4 separate regions of the Homo sapiens genome follow, and regions 1, 2 and 3 are each linked to region 4. The links are contacts of gene promoters, found by promoter capture Hi-C in blood cells and fetal thymus (Javierre and others, 2016). All regions are on one chromosome and are shown on one strand. The core of a region is centred on a gene start or on the middle of the fragment in contact, and the rest is flanking DNA. Distances in the headings are between cores, read along the strand shown. Region 1 overlaps TBC1D22B (TBC1 domain family member 22B). Region 2 overlaps TBC1D22B (TBC1 domain family member 22B). Region 3 overlaps TBC1D22B (TBC1 domain family member 22B). Region 4 holds the start of MTCH1 (mitochondrial carrier 1).

Region 1 (3,790 bases), core at 1,223-3,722, 300 kb before region 4:
AATCCCAGCACTTTGGGAGGCCAAGCCGGGCGGATCATGAGGTCAGGAGATCGAGACCATCCTGGCTAACACGGTGAAACCCTGTCTCTACTAAAAATACAAAAAATTAGCCGGGCGTGGTGGCGGGTGCCTGTAGTCCCAGCTACTCGGGAGGCCGAGGCAGGAGAATGGTGTGAACCCGGGAGGTGGAGCTTGCAGTGAGCCGAGATCGGGCCACTGCACTCCAGCCTGGGCGACAGAGCAAGACTCTGTCTCAAAAAAAAAAAAGAAATGGAAATCAAAGTAGTAAGAAAACACAATTTATCTTCAGAAAGAAGTGACTGACACAGGAAAAAAATCTAGTTATACCTACCTGCCCATGTGGAACATGTTTCCATGACAACAATAGCTTATTAAACAGTGAGGAAACCTCCCAAAAGAAACCACTAAAGTCAAATGGCAATAGGCTTCACAGATTAAGGGTTTTTTCTTATTGCTCTGAAGTCTGTTTCACTCTGGGCTGGCATGTATGTAGCAGGTATGATCCAAGTAGGTACCCATCTTTCAGAATCTTACTCATCAACAGTTCCTAAGAACTAGAAGAGCTCAGAAAGCTGCAAAAATGTCCTAAAATAGGGAACCAGAGATGAACTTGCTTATGAAGTCATGATGTGTAAGAAGCGGGGAAGGGCCAGGGCGATGGCTCACGCCTGTGATCCCAGCACTTTGGGAGGCTGAGGCGGGTGGATCACTTGAGGTCAGGAGTTTGAGACCAGCCTGGCCAACATGGTGAAACCCCGTCTCCACTAAAATTACAAAAATTACATGGTGGCTCATACCTGTAATCCCAGCACTTTGGGAGGCCAAGGTGGGTGGATCACCTGAGGCCAGGAGTTCAAGACCAGCCTGGCCAACATGGCGAAACCCCATCTCTACTAAAATTACAAAAATTAGCTGGGTGTGGTGGTGTGCGCCTGTAATCCCAGCTATCCAGGAGGGTGAGGCAGGAGAATCGCTGGAACCCAGCGGACAAAGGCTGGAGCAAGCCGAGATTGCGCCACTGCACTCCAGCCTAAGTGACAGAAAAAGACTCGGTCTCAAAAAAGATAAAGAAAAAATTAGCCGGGCCTGGTGGCACATGCCTGTAATCCCAGCTACTCAGGAAGCCGAGGCAGGAGAATCACCTGAATCCAGGAGGTGGGGGCTGCAGTGAGCCAAGATCACGCCACTGCACTCCAGCCTGGACGACAGAGTGAGACTCCATCTCAAAAAAAAAAAAAAAAAAAAAAAAAAAGTGGGGAAGGACCAAAAGGAGTTGGCCTTCAGTAACTGAAGCTGAAAGTTCTTACTTCTGTTACCTAAGACATCACTATAGTCCATTTCAACTCAGGGATTTCCCAGTGCCCAGTCTAACTATGCAAAAGACTGTGTCAGCAGCAGCAGCAGCAGAGGCTACTTCAGTTCTTGAGGCTTGTTGTAAATAGCTGCCCACCTTCCACTTTCTGCAACCCCTGGCCTACTCTTCTCCTCCCTCCACATGTGATGTTGGGAGCAGACCTTTCCGCAGACCATGAGGACCATTATGGGCAATGACAGAAGACTCCCTGACAAGACTACTGAAAGCTACAGCTCCTACAGTCACAGATGCCAAAACAGCAGTGCAGCTGCCAGGAAGACATACTGATGTCATAGTCCAGAGGGACTGGACCACGGCTAGGTAAGCTTGTCTTTCCTCTCCATGCTCGATAACGCTTACTACTCACAGTGTGGTTGGTGGACCAGCAGCAGCAGCATTGCAAGGGAGCACATCAGAACTTCAGGCTTTACCTGAGACCTGCTAAATCAGAATCTGCATTTTCTCATAATCTCTAGGTGAGATCTTATCAAGATCCTAGGTGATTTGTATGTACATTAAAGTTTGAGAAGCAGTGCACTGACTAGTGCCAAAAAAGTCTGTCTATTTAAAATGGCTAAAATCAGAGTTGCTGAATGAAAAGAGGGGAAACAGTTTTGAGGATAAATTTAACTCCTAACCAATATACCACAGCCTGAAGACTTGGAAAGCCTGTACCCTGAGAGCACTACCATGAGACATACCTAAAGTATATGACTGGTAAGCAAAGAGGCAGCAGGTGGTGACTGTACCTGTCTGTAGGTATCCTGGTGATGTTCCTCGTTTCGAGAGTCATAATACTGTTCAATGAAGCCAAAATATTCCTCCCGCTTCCGCTGCAGGGTCAACTTCCTCCTCTCAGTGTTTGCTGGGAGATAGCCCTATAGACAAGACTGCTGGTCAGATGGGGAAAGACAATGGTTGGATAAATCCTTAATTTTTATTTTAATCTATGCAGTGGTTTGGAAACTACCAAGAAGGAAAACTGCCAAGGGTAAATCCCTTTTTGGTTCTGGCCACCCATTTTTTGCCCTCTCCTCATTCAATGAGATCCACATGTGAGCAGATGAAGCAAGGCCAGCTTTCCCAGGATTATTTACTCCCTTGGCCCTGCACTGTGCTGGAGCTTGTGCCACTGGTGAGCACTCCTCAGCTCCCAGAGCTGGCACAGTACAGCAGTGAATGTAGGTCAGTGGGAGGGAGCTGGACCCAAGTCATGGCCTCGGAGGGCTGTGTGTGTCCAGGGCCATACTTCTGAGAAATGCAGGGATATAGCAACCTCTACAGCACATCTCAGCAGTGTGCCAAGTAAGTTGGTGCCAGTTACATTCTTTTCCAGTGTAACTTTCAGAATTACCAGCTTAGGAAGCAGCTGAATGGAATCTGTGACATACAGCTACAACACTCAGACAGAACTTCTGGCAGCAGCCCCCGGCCTAGCCAAAGCTCCAGGCCAACTTTCATTCTTATCCCTGGTCTAGATCCCACTCTCATTCTTATATTTTCTGTTCCCCTTCCGTTCTCACCAAATCTACTCTGAATAGTATTCAAACTTATTAGAAGTGGCAGAGGCAATGATTGCATGGTTGCAAGAGTAGAGGTGGGGGCGAGCAGTCAGGAGACAGACCCTTCTTCTTGAAAACATTTATGTAATGCATTCTGCAGTGAGTGCCTGGAGAGTGGGGACTGTGGTTTATTCATTTTTGCATCTGCTCAAAGCATCTGGCACTATGCCTGGCAAACAGCAGGCTCTCAATAAATCCTCACTAGATGAATGAATGAATTTTACAGGCTCAGGAAACCCAAGTGTTTCTATCATAGCGGCTGGCACAGTGCTCTGTACTTGGTGAAAGCAGGACTAGTAAAGCTTCCAAGGGAGGCCAATTTATCAACTCTTCACAGATCAAAGTGGGTTTCAACTTTTGGTTATTCCGGCTGAAACAGGAGTGAAGCACAGGGAACGTTGGAGCTTACTCAAAGCAAGTGCTGGGATCACCCTATCTCACTCTATTCTTCTTCCTCGCTGTTAAGAACATGACACCATGACTATTGGTACAAGTCTGTGTACCACTACATGTGTGTGAATAAACTCTCAAGAATGTATTTCTTTATGCACAGAAATAGGACTATAGTCCCATAGTTCTGTCATATCCAGTAGGACTAGAGAAGTCTATGGAGTTAAGACCAATGTGTCCAGACTAACCTCATCAGGCAAGAAGGGCTGTGTGAGGCTCACATTTCTCTACACAGTGGGTAGAACTCACCGACAGGAGTCTCCAGGTTATAGGTCGAACCTCCCTGGGAACCCCTGGCCAGCTACACTTCCTCAGTTCATCTGTAAATAGAAAACAGCCTTGTTAGGTTAACTCTCCACAAATGCTCTAAAGCAAACCGCAACCAGCACTGCCTGATGTCTCC
Region 2 (4,058 bases), core at 515-3,014, 330 kb before region 4:
CTTCCTTTTTCTTTTTCTTTTTTTGAGACAGAGTCTCACTTTGCTGCCCTGGCTGGAGTGCACTGGCACGATCTCGGCTCACTGCAATCTCCGCCTCCCAGGTTCAAGCGATTCTCCTGCCTCAGCTTCCCGAGTAGCTGGGATTACAGGTGTGTGCCATCACACCTGGCTGACGGAGTTTCACCACGTTGGCCAGGCTGGTCTTGAACTCCTGACCTCAGGTGATCTGCCTGCCGTGGCCTCCCAAAGTGCTGGGATTACAGGCATAAGCCACCGTGCCTGGCCTCTTAATTCCTTTTTCTAGGACCAGAGTGGCAACAGGAGGCCCTGACAGGCCTCCTATTGCTAGCCCAGATGGCCCTGTCCTCTGGGCAGATACAGTCCTCTTCAGGCTCACTGCTGGGTAACAGAAGCTCCATTCACTTCCTTAGTAGTACACAACTGTACATGGTGGTAATGAATTGTGATTATGTAAAAATGACCCACATCAAAATGGGTAGAAAACATCTATTTGTCTATTTGGTAGGTAGGTTCGAGCGCTCTTACATTGTCTCCACCATTTACTTTCCTCCCAACCTTTTGAGGGTGGACTCATGACATAAATCTTAAGCATGCAGGTTGATGACTTTTTACATAAGTACACACCCAATTAACCACCACCCAGATGAAAACAGAGAACACTTCTTGTGTCTCAGAGACTCATGCTCCTCCCCAGTCAACACGGCCTCCCCAGCCACTGATCTAACAGAAGCCTGAGAGCTCCACAAGGGCCCAAGCAGGCTCTAGGACTCCACAGACAGGCCCAGAGCTGCTCTTCACCCATAACCTGCACCAGCCCTGGGGGCTCCCTGCTGCAGTCCACCCTGGAGCATTAGAGCCTCTGCTTTCCCCAGGGATGTGTGTTAGGTGATTTCAGGCCACTTGGAGGGAGAGCATGAAAGGGCAGCAGGAGATCACAGATCTTTCTGGCAGTGGAAGGAGAAAAACCCAGAAGCCAGAATAGGAGGAGGTCACAAGGAAGACCCTGGGAGGAATTCTTTTTCAGTTTTAAAACAACAAGTTTTTGTTGTTGTTGCTAAATGTTTCTTTGTGAGAAGAAAGCCTGCTAGCAACCTCCAATGTAGGGGGAGAGATGGGGAAGAAGAAATCTTGAGGGAGGTGGAAACCTAAGCAGATCCTTGCCTGGGAACAGCCACCATGTAAGTTTAGCTCAAGAGCTCCAGGAAGCATCTGGCAGGCCTGGGACTGACAGGCAGCAAAGCACAGTGGTTCAGAGAGTGGATTCCAGGCCTCTATCACTCACTCAGGTGACCTTGGCCTGGTTACTTAAAAAAAAAAAATCTTGCTATGACAGTTTCCCCATTTGTAAAATGGGGTATTATAGCCTACCTTGTAGGATTGTTGCAAGGATGAAATGAATTAACACAGGAAAACATTTAGAATAGTGCCTGTATATTCAAAGTGCTAAGAATTAGCTGCTATTAGATTGAGCCTCACGAAATTGCCAATATTCAACCATTTTAATCTACAAAAACAACTGCATATGATTCAACCTAACATATTATTATGATTCTATTACACTAGCCCAGGCTGAGGGCAGGAATTGTCAAGAGTCCCCACCTACCACAAAAGAGGCTTTGGCCCAGCTCTGCTGGCAGCTCGCATTTCAAGCTGCCACGGGCCCGGAGGATCCAGCCATTCTGCTCCCAGAGTACTATGTGCAAATGTGCCTCAGGCTCCTTTGCCCAGCGGTCTCAGGAAGGAAACCTCTCAGTGTGATCTCCTTTGTCAGTTTTTGGTCCTCTCTGCCAGGCAGCGGCCCTAGACAACTGCTTGGCCAGGGAGAAGCACGCACCCTTCCTGCTGGGGGCTTTTGTCGCAGCTGGGACCCAGCCCTTTGCCCCTGTGTACTCTGATGCCTCCTCTCCAAACCAGTTTCCCTCAGTATGAACCTTGTATGGTTTACTCATTATGTTAAAAACCACTTAATTAGAAAAGTGGGTTTTTAAAGCTCGCCTCATTGCTTCCAGGACTCGTGAATACACTAAAGGAAGTATTAATATTAATGATAATAAGCTCACTGTTTCGAGGTCTATATATCAAGTACACTATTCTAACTGTCTCACATGTATTTGTTTCTTTATTCTCATCATAGCCCAAGGAGGTAGGTACTATTGCCCCATTTATAGATAAGAAAACGGAGGCACAGAGAAACAAGTTACTTACTTACAGCTGCATGTTTAGGAAAGTGTGAGAGCTGGGATCCGACCCCAGGCAGTCTGGCTCCAAAGACCATGGTTTAACCACTGTACTACTCTGCACAGTCCCTAACCTTGACAGGAAGATATCTGCTTCCTCTCTGAACCCCTTACTGGCTCCCTTTATATCTGGCTCTTTTTCCCTGTTCTTCAAGTGTAACCAGTTTGCTGGTCTGCTAAAACTGCTGCAACTACCACTTTTATTTCTGTAACCACTTCAGCTGGTTTTTCTCTGAGTCACTTAACGTGGCTTTTAGCCCTAAAACTTCTCTCCTAGGCTGGACATGTTTGGTTTTTTACAATACCTGTATTCATCTACAGAGCTTCCTTCACAGTGATTTCACTACAAGCAGCCCTTCAGCAGTTAGGATACATGTGCCTACTTTCTCTGCAAAAGTCACACCCAACAGTTCACAACCTTACACAATGCTTTGTGCCCTTGTTCCTCACACCTCTGCCATGATTCTGTCTCCTAAAGGACACTGCCTGTCTAGCCTAACACCCAGGCACATTTTCTTCTTTTATCATTCATAGAATTTTAGAACTATGGAGGTGGGAGGAACTTTTCACCTTATCCAGTTTAATCGCCCATTCTATTTTGTCTAAAAGAAAGATGTGAGACTCTTCCACAAACAGGATTAATCGAGGTGTTAATACAGCAGCAGACAATAGCCTCCAATGCTGTTCTGTTGGGTATTGCCAAAAGGCCTCAGACCTACCAGATAATTGAAAATGCTACCCAGTAAAGAATATCTCTAGGATTAACATAGCTGTAAAGTCACAGAGTATTGTCCTCTGTTCTGCCGATATTGTGAACTGCTAAAAGCCATTCCAGGAATCATCTGCACCTCCCTGAGCTGATCTGGGAAGCACTTTTATCACATATGGCAAAGCTCTGAGCCTGGCTCATGATAACTAAATTAAACTTCATGCTCTTACTATCCGGCTCCACCTCAACCACATTATCCAAATGGATAGCTCATCCCAGCATACAGCCATTCCAGCCCCTTGTCCTCATTTATCCTGGAATGCCACACATGCTGCTCACTGGCAGAAGCCATGGTTCTTAATCAGTGGCCTGAAGCCTCGGCACCATGGCTAGCATCTACTCACAGAAGTCAATGCATCTGCTCTCCTTTTTCTTCCAAAGCCCTTACTTGGGCAAGCTGGGTCCTGTCTTTCCATCTATCTACTAAATAGTCTTCTGTTCTTTTGCCCCCTAACACCAATCACAGAGTGGTAATGCTCAGGGATCACATGGAGACGCTGCCACTCTTCAGAACATCTATGTTATTAGTTAGAACTTAGAAAAGCATTCAACTTTCTCTGGCTTTTCCCCCTGCTTTTAAAAGAGGTATATACCTATTAAAAACAAACAAACCAAAAAACCTCTCAGTTCAGAAACGTGCAAAGCATAAAAGCAATACACTCGCCACCCCCAACCCTAATGATTCTCTCTGGAGAGCCTGACAATCTCCTCAATCCTTATTTCCCTGACCCTGGAACAGCTCCTAGCCTACCCACCACCTAACATAGGCCCTTCTTGAGTTTTCTACATAGGGACTCTGAAGCACCCCCACCCAGGGGTTCCAGGAGGCTGTACTCTTGCTGGTCATCCCCTCTCAGCCACCTCTGCTCCCTGACCTCTTCATGTAGTCATATAAGAGTGTGTCAAGGCTGGGCCCTGGTCCCCTTCTCTGTCCATCCTTACTTCCTTAGGGATCTCATCCAGTGTGTCGGCTTTAAGCAGCATCTAGGCAAAGGCTCCTAAATTTATAGGTCCAGTCCAGATCTCTCTTT
Region 3 (3,730 bases), core at 58-2,557, 320 kb before region 4:
TTACCTCCTTCAGGGCTCTGCTCAAATGTCATCTCCTCAGTGTGAAGGCGGCTCACCACCCGGTTTAAAACCTGCCTCCTGCTCCCACACTTGCCAGCATGGCACATCCCTGTCCCTCTTTCTTGCTTTGTTTCTATCCATAGCACTTATCTCAATCCTACAAATATCTGTTTTTTCAGTTGATTGTCTGTTTCTGCCCACCAGAAATTAAACTAAGAAAGCGATTTTTTTAAAAAAGTAGAATTACGCATAGTAAACTGCACATATGTGCACAGTTCTATGAGTCTTGACACATGTTTATGTCTATGGTTTAAAAAAAAAATGCCCCCATCCAAATAGAGAATATTTCCATCACCCCGGAAATGTTTCCTTATGCTCATTCTCAGCCCACCTCCCACCATAGGTAAACTTTGCTCTCATTTCTATCGCCATAGATAAGCTTTACCTATTTTTAACTCCATATAATGTGAATCATACAATATATATATTTTTTGGTATCTGGCTTCTTTCATTCTGTTTCATGGTTTCTGAGACTCTTCCATGTTGCTGTACTACTAATAGTACGTTCTCATTTATTGCTGAGTACTGCTCTGTGGTATGGATATCTGTTCTCATATTAGCTGATATTAGGGTTGTTTCATTTTATGTCTGTATAAAGTTGCTGTGAATATGTTTGTGCATGTCTTTTGGGGCTATAAGCCTTCATTTTCCTTGAATAAATACCTAGAAGTAGAAGGCAGGGTTTTTGTCTACTTCGTTTATGGTCATAAACCCCAGTGCCTAGAGCAGTGCCCTGCACATGTGGGTGCTCATCAAAGACTTGTTGACTAAGTGGTGGTGCTCCACCTCCATCCCTTAGGGGAGAGAGAACTTTCGGCTAATTCAGCACAGTATCAGAAAAGTGTAACTCACTGCCCTCCAGTGGCCAAGCCTAGTGAAGCTGTACTAATTTCTGAGTATTCTGCAGTTATGGAATTTTCATTCTCTCATTCATCTGGACATGTGTGGAATGCCTATTTTGGACACCAAAATGAAGGTACTGGGGATATGAAGATGTTTAAAATACTCTTTGGCCTCAAAGAATCAGAAAGTCTGGTGGCAGAGAGTAGGAGGGAAACACAAACAACTAGCGAGGTAAAGTGCCACAGGAGAAATCTACAGAGTGACAGAAATAGCACTATTAGATGCCGGGGGTCAGGGGGACCCCAGGGAAGGCTTCTAGGAGGAAGGGGAGTCTTAAAGGGTGCACAAAGATTAGCTCAGGAGATAAAGAGGTGGTGCAGGACAAGGCTTTACATTTACAATGTCCATTTTGGATTGTTGAGTTTAAGGGGCGAAGCAGGGAGCAGGTCACAGGGCCTTTACATGCCAAGTTAGAAAACCTGGACATTTAACCTATAGGTGATGGAATGCTAAGGAAGGATTTTTGTCAGAGGAGTTCTGTGGGCGAGTCTCTGTTTGAATGGTGTGCAAGATGGGTTTGAAGGAGATAAAACCGGGGGTGAGAAAACATGCTTGGCTGGTTCAGCAATCCAGGCCTGACCTAGGGCGTGCATAGTGAGAATGAAGAAGAAGCAGATTAAGAAACATTTAGGACGTAAAATCACCAGAGCTTTGTAAATGATTGGATATGGAAGAGTAAGGAAACAGAATCATGAACAATTCTTAGCATTTCTGACTTAAGTGACAGGAAATACTGCCAACTAAGAGAAAAGGGTGCCTGGGTAAGGGAAGGAGAAGAGCCAAACACCGAGTCTGAGGAGCCTAAGAATAGCAAAGATTGCCTAAAAATAACTGTTCCCTTCTTCCTCCTTGGTGACAGGACCCCTAAGTGTATTGGCCACCTAAGACAGACTGTTTCTCAGCCTCACTTGCTGCTAGGTGTGCCCACGAGATTAAGTTCAAACAAAAGAGAATCAAGCCCCAGAGTCATGCACAGCTTTCAGAAATGTTCTTAAACAGAAGAAGTATGCCTTGCTTCCTTTCCTTCTCCATACTGGCTGGAATATTGATGTGATGGCTGGAGCACAAACAGCTCTTGGATCATGAGAAAGAAACCACATGCTGAAGACTGCAGAATGAGAGAGAGCAACCTGGATCTCTGATATTTTGGAGCAGCAGATAAGCCCCAGATCACTCACCTCTGGACTTTTAATGTGAGAGAAATAAGCTTTTCTATCTTACTTAAGGAACTGTTACTTGGGTTCCCTGTTATGTGCAGCCTAGCTAATCCTAAGTGATCATCTATGACATAATCAGGTGGAAATGCCATGTAGGGAACCGGACACAAGTCAGAGGTCTGCGGAGGACTTCCTTTCCGAGAGTTCCACTGCTGTCATGCTTCCAGGTAAAATCTACGGTGAAAATCCTACTGTGCTGTTTTATGCAAAGGAAAAGAGAAAAGGTTACTTGATAATTGGTGTTGCATTTTGTACCTAAAAATATCATCAGACACCACTCTTCTTTTGAAAATAGGAAACATCATAAGTCCTGCTCTTCTCCATGACTTCCTTATATGAATCACTTCTGTTGTTCCTGTTAAGCAGTTTATTTTGATGATGGCTGCATGGTCAATTATATTGGACCTCAGTAGTTCAGAGCTAGACTAATATTGCCTAAGCCTAAAAGCTCTTGGAGGAAAGAGTTTAGAATTATACCACAGTCTCAGAGATAAGATTCCAGAGACTTTATCTCCCCAGGGGTGACCTCCCCACCTGCAGCACTGTCACCACTAGACCCAGACACAGCTGGCTTATCTGCAGAGGACCCACTTTTACAGGAGCAGCTGGCTTCAGCAGATAAAGAAGCTGCTTGGGGGCAAGGCTAGAGCTATAGACAACTTCTCTATCAACTCACAGGGGAATCACTGGAACTCACTGTTTCCAACTACTTTACAACAAACATAACATAAAGCATGAAGCAGGCTCAGGTACTAATTTTTAAAAGTGATAGAGGTGGTAGAGAATAGGTAGGGGAAGAGATATGAGAGAAGCCAAATAATGTCCCAGTGGCATGTGGACCCCACGGCTCCACTAGGGCAGATCCCCTATGCTATGATTCAGTGAGATGGGGCAGTGGGGTAAGGATGCCTGGAGAGACCTACCCAGGATAATGAGGGCAACTGCTGGCCTGTTCCATGAGAAAGATACTTGAGGCTTCCTACAGTAGGGAGAGTCACACCAGGAGGGCCATAGCAAAAAACCTTTGACAGCAGCTGCCTCATCCAGATACGCCAACATGAGAGAAGTAGAGAAGAGAAGCATCATTGCCCAGACAAAAAAATGATGCTTGCTGGCCACAATGTTGTATCTATCTCTGTTCAAGAAAGGTGTGAGGGTGGGGAGAAGTCTGTATTTCTTTGGAATTTAATTTATATCCAGCAACTGACAGGTAAATAAGATGTAGTACATCCATATAATAGAATATTTGGCCATAGAAAAGAATGAAGTACTGACACGTGCTACAACATGAATGAATCTTGAAGACATTACGCTAAGTAAAAGAAGCCAGACACAAAAGACTCCATACTGTGTGGTTCCATTTATATAAAATGTCCAGGATAGGGAAATCCCTAGATACAGAAGATTAGTGGTTGCCCAGGGATACACGGGATGGGAGGCTTAGGGGTGATGGCTAAAGAGTACGAGTGTTCTTTCTGGGGTGATAAAATGTTTTAAAATTGATTGTGGTGACATACAACTCTGTAAATATACTAAAAATTATTCACTGT
Region 4 (4,200 bases), core at 1,092-3,591:
CAAAGTGCTGAGATTACAGGTGTGAGCCACCGCGCCTGGCCAGAGCTAACTCCTTTATAGCTCTAAAGGTTTATTGCCAGGTTGCTCAGTAGCTTGACTGCTGAGGAAGATTTTCTTTCATTCAATCATTTCAGTGAGTATACTTTTCATTTCTAGATGTTCTGTTTGGCACCTTTTCAAATACACCTGTTTTTTTTTTTCCTTTACAATTCCTGTTCTTTTTACTAGTACTTCCTATTATTTATCTTTGCCTTCATTTGAAACCTACTTCTTTCCTTTTAATTTTCTTTGAGATGGTTCTATTATCTCAAGTTCTTCCTGTTTTGCCCATTCTCTCTCATGATGGCACGTTTCTTTGAGCGGCTCATACATTTTTTATTGTGAGGATTCTTTTTTTCTTCCTCTTGGAGTCTCTGTGAGCCCTGAGTTGTAGAAATACAGCTATTGTGCAGTTTAACATTTGCTTCTGCTTGGTACCCTACGGGTCTAACTGGTTTAGCTGATCTATTTTTCCTTCAATTTCTTCACTTGGAGAAATTGTTCGATCATTTAGAAATACTTTACTGAACATGTACTATGTGCATAGTCCTATATCTGATGTTGTGGAAGATACAAAACAATGCAAGACAACACAAAGTTGCTGCTTCACATGAAACTACAGTTTGAAAGGGCCAAATACAGTATAGGCCCAAAGTTAGGTGACCATGTAAGGCAGAGTAAAAGGCTCAACGGTGAACAGCCAAGTTCAGAAAGAAAAACAGACAGTTGGAGAAAAATGGGGACGAAAAGCCCAAAGAAGGAAAAGGTTCCTGTGAGGAAGTTTCAGAAGGATGGGGAAGTAAATCATCCTCCCCTACCCCCACCCCCCACCCCCAAACTAAAACCTATCGCCTCTTCTGGGTAGAGAGTTAGTGTGGCACTAGGAACTTGACTTTGAGGTCCTTATTGAGAAAGCTAAATCAGAACCTAGGCAAAAGGAAGTCATTTAAGGTGCTCCTGGGGGATGTTTGATGAAAATTGTGTTTGATGGAGAAAACACAGCAAGTTGAAAGGGTTAGCAGGCTTTGCAAGTGATTTCACTAGGACAAGCCTGGGTTAGGGAGGCCAAGGTGAGGGAGAGAGGGAGTGTGGCATGCTTTGAACGTGGAAAGTACATAGTGTTCATTATCAGGAGTGGGAAGAGGGGAGGTAGCTTTTTAGGGGGTAAGGCAGGAAGGGAGTTAGAAAGGACAGACTGGGAAACCCGGACTAACAGTGGCAGGTGTCGATCTAAAGAAATTTCTCACAATGAACTGGCTATAGACTAAGTACAGACAAAGGGACCAGGTCTTCCATTGCTGTGTCCCTGCACACTCTAGGATCCGTTCAAACAGAAACTTTTATTGCGAACCCCCAAAACTAGCACGGTTCTGTTGTAGGTGTTGTTGCAGAGTGTCGGGCACGTTTACAAACAGGAACAGGGCACTTGCTGTCCTATCTTCCTCGCAGGGTTCTTGTGACGATTACACTTAAATCAACACGTATAAAGCATTTTAAAAAGTGCCTGTCACATAGTCCCTGCAATTTAAGGTCTAGTTGTGATTATTCACTTGTATTAACTAAGAATCAACTACAGGCGCCTAGCAGTGCCTGCATGTGCTCACACTGAGGCACTCACTAAAACCCTCAGGATCTAGTGAGGGAGACAGTCAAATACTTTAGAGCAAAACAAATTTTACAACCACGGACTCTGAGGAAGGCGTGCGAAGGCTCCACAGCTGGGGAGGGTGCCCACAGTCGCCGAGGGGACATCTGGATTTGCTCTGGTTGGGAGAGCATTCCTGGCAGAGGAGATGGAAAATGCGATCGGACAAAGAGGCTGGGACCGCGGAGGGGATCGGGCTCGGGGTCGGGGCTCGTCCTGCAGCAGGAGATTCAGCTCGCGCAGAGTTCCACGCAGGCCGCGGCGACTGGGATCTGGGCCGCAAAGGGGCGGGCAGAGAACTGCAGAGAAAACTCCCGAAGCCAGGGAGGTGGCTTGGAAGCGCCTCAGACCATATTGGGGACGTCTGGCAGCCAGAGGCGCCGAACCCCGCCCCCGCGTGCTCTGGGCATCCCGGGGGAGCGCCCCGGCCTGCGGCTGCCGCCACAGCTCCCGAGCCCGGGGCCCCGGCTGCCCGCCACCATTGACCCCCGGCCCGCAGCCCAGTGTCCTGCTAGGCCTCCAACCGGCCGGGGAGCCACATCCGGCGTGTCCCACCCGCCGCACCACGCTCCCGAGCTCCCCCGCGGCCTGGAGTGGTGCGCCCCGGCCCCGCCCCCTGACGCCGGTGAGGGGGCGTGGCCCCGTCACGTGACGGGGAGTGACCTCGCCGCCGGGCGCCATGGGAGCTTCGGACCCGGAAGTGGCGCCCTGGGCTCGCGGCGGTGCCGCGGGGATGGCGGGAGCCGGAGCTGGAGCCGGAGCTCGCGGCGGAGCGGCGGCGGGGGTCGAGGCTCGAGCTCGCGATCCACCGCCCGCGCACCGCGCACATCCTCGCCACCCTCGGCCTGCGGCTCAGCCCTCGGCCCGCAGGATGGATGGCGGGTCAGGGGGCCTGGGGTCTGGGGACAACGCCCCGACCACTGAGGCTCTTTTCGTGGCACTGGGCGCGGGCGTGACGGCGCTCAGCCATCCCCTGCTCTACGTGAAGCTGCTCATCCAGGTGGGGGACCAGAGGCGCCGTAGGGAGATGGGAGGCTGATGTGAAGGTGACAGGCCAGGATTTGGAGGATTGGGGCGGGCAGTCAATGGCGACGGATTTGGGGAGAGGGGTGGGGACGGCGGGTTTGGGGGGCCGAGTGGGTGGGATGGGAGGGAAGCCGTGAGGGAGTTGGGAACGCAGGGGTCACGGGTTTTAGGATACAGAAAGGAGACCAAGGGGTTAGAGTAATAACAGATACGGGAGAGGGTGGAAGGAACAAGCGATTTGGGGGAGTGCCAAGGAGGGAGCGATGGGCTGGAAAAACATATTTGGGAGATAAAGGAGTGGGGACGATGGACTTGGGATAGGGAAGGGAGCGAATTTGGGGCGAGGGAAGAAGCAATAGAATTGGGGGAGGGGCAAGAAGTTTGGGTGAAGAGATGGGGAGGAAGGTTGGGGGCCCAGGCAAAGTGTTTAGAGAATGAGGAGCACATAATTGGGGTAGAGGGGAACGGAGGCTCTGGATTTGATAGAGATGGATTTAAAACGTCTTGGGGTGGGGACAAAGTGGGCGCCAGGGCCAGAAATTTAGGAGGGAAAGAAGGACACCAGACTGGGGGTGGACAGAGGAGACGGAGGTCTTGGGTTGCATTGTGATTTAATTTGGTGGGAGAGTGCGAAGGCAAAGACTTTTGCAGGGGAATGCTATCGGTTTACCGGAGATGGGGGCTCTGGATTTGATGGCGACGACGGATTTGGTAGGAGGAGGGGACAGGGTGACGCGTATGGGGGGAGGGGAACAGATAGGGCCAGCATTGGGGGAGGGGAGTGGCAGCGATTTGTCTAGAGAGGGGAGCTAGGAGGAGGCTTTAAGCGGGGAAGGGGGATGACGCATTTGGAGGAGGAAATGGAAGTCATAGTTGGGGTCAGAGAGAGGAATCACAGTGCTTGTATCTGGGCAGATGAGGAGAAGGGGCACGGGAGTATTGAAATTGGGCAGAAGGGACAGTGGAGACATAGGTGGCAGGATAGGTAGGGACTACCAGAAATTGAGACCGAGGTAGGGATGTCTCTGGAACAGAGGGATGCATAGGCACTTGGCAGATTTGGTGGTGGCCAGCAATGCGGTACAGATGAAGTGTGCTGCTTGAGGAGTGAGCTGGAATGAAGGGCGTGTGGAGGTGTGAGAATTAGGTGGGTGTGGCTGGGATGGGTACAGTTTTGATGGGGGTCATTAGGCCAGAATTTTCCAGTTAAGAAGCTTGGGGGGAGGAAGGTAAAAATTGAATTGGAGACCCATCCAAGATTTGAGTTGAGGCAGGTGGGTGTCAGATTTTACCATCTTTATAATTGAACCGAGAGAATGCAAAATACAACTGGAATGAGAAGGCCTTGAGAATGAGAGTAATTGAAATCTGGGATCCGAGGAATGGTAATAGATTTGTGGGTGTGACCAGGAATATGACAAGGAATGAGGAGATTCAGTCAGGGGCATCAAGGTGCCTGACTAGACCCTAATTGTGACAGATTTGAAAAT

The links. Contacts are between HindIII fragments. The CHiCAGO score rates a contact against its expected background, and 5 or more counts as called.
Region 1: a fragment that was not itself captured here is called in contact with the fragment with the promoter of MTCH1 in region 4 in 1 of 17 cell types (erythroblasts); the score reaches 5.3 in erythroblasts.
Region 2: a contact is called between a fragment that was not itself captured here and the fragment with the promoter of MTCH1 in region 4, in 1 of 17 cell types (erythroblasts). The highest score is 6.2, in erythroblasts.
Region 3: a fragment that was not itself captured here is called in contact with the fragment with the promoter of MTCH1 in region 4 in 2 of 17 cell types (erythroblasts and megakaryocytes); the score reaches 7.0 in erythroblasts.

Annotation. Positions count from the first base shown.
Region 1 is chr6:37,282,799-37,286,588 of GRCh38, reverse strand. TBC1D22B (TBC1 domain family member 22B) reads right to left here. Exons shown (of 13, transcript NM_017772.4): 5 at 3,637-3,707; 6 at 2,125-2,253. Among named protein-coding and RNA genes, the nearest start is that of TMEM217B, 27 kb to the right of the region's middle. RefSeq lists an enhancer at 461-510. The HindIII fragment of the contact is 1,538 bases long and covers 1,704-3,241 here.
Region 2 is chr6:37,318,483-37,322,540 of GRCh38, reverse strand. The region is part of intron 12 of TBC1D22B (TBC1 domain family member 22B); the gene reads right to left. Among named protein-coding and RNA genes, the nearest start is that of RNF8, 33 kb to the left of the region's middle. The HindIII fragment of the contact is 6,431 bases long and covers 1-4,058 here.
Region 3 is chr6:37,301,289-37,305,018 of GRCh38, reverse strand. The region is part of intron 8 of TBC1D22B (TBC1 domain family member 22B); the gene reads right to left. Among named protein-coding and RNA genes, the nearest start is that of TMEM217B, 45 kb to the right of the region's middle. RefSeq lists a silencer at 789-838. The HindIII fragment of the contact is 1,731 bases long and covers 442-2,172 here.
Region 4 is chr6:36,984,337-36,988,536 of GRCh38, reverse strand. MTCH1 (mitochondrial carrier 1) reads left to right here and starts at 2,341. Exons shown (of 12, transcript NM_001271641.2): 1 at 2,341-2,684. The coding sequence starts at 2,364. RefSeq lists enhancers at 1,737-1,946, 2,065-2,787 and a silencer at 2,037-2,626. The HindIII fragment of the contact is 16,171 bases long and covers 1-3,926 here.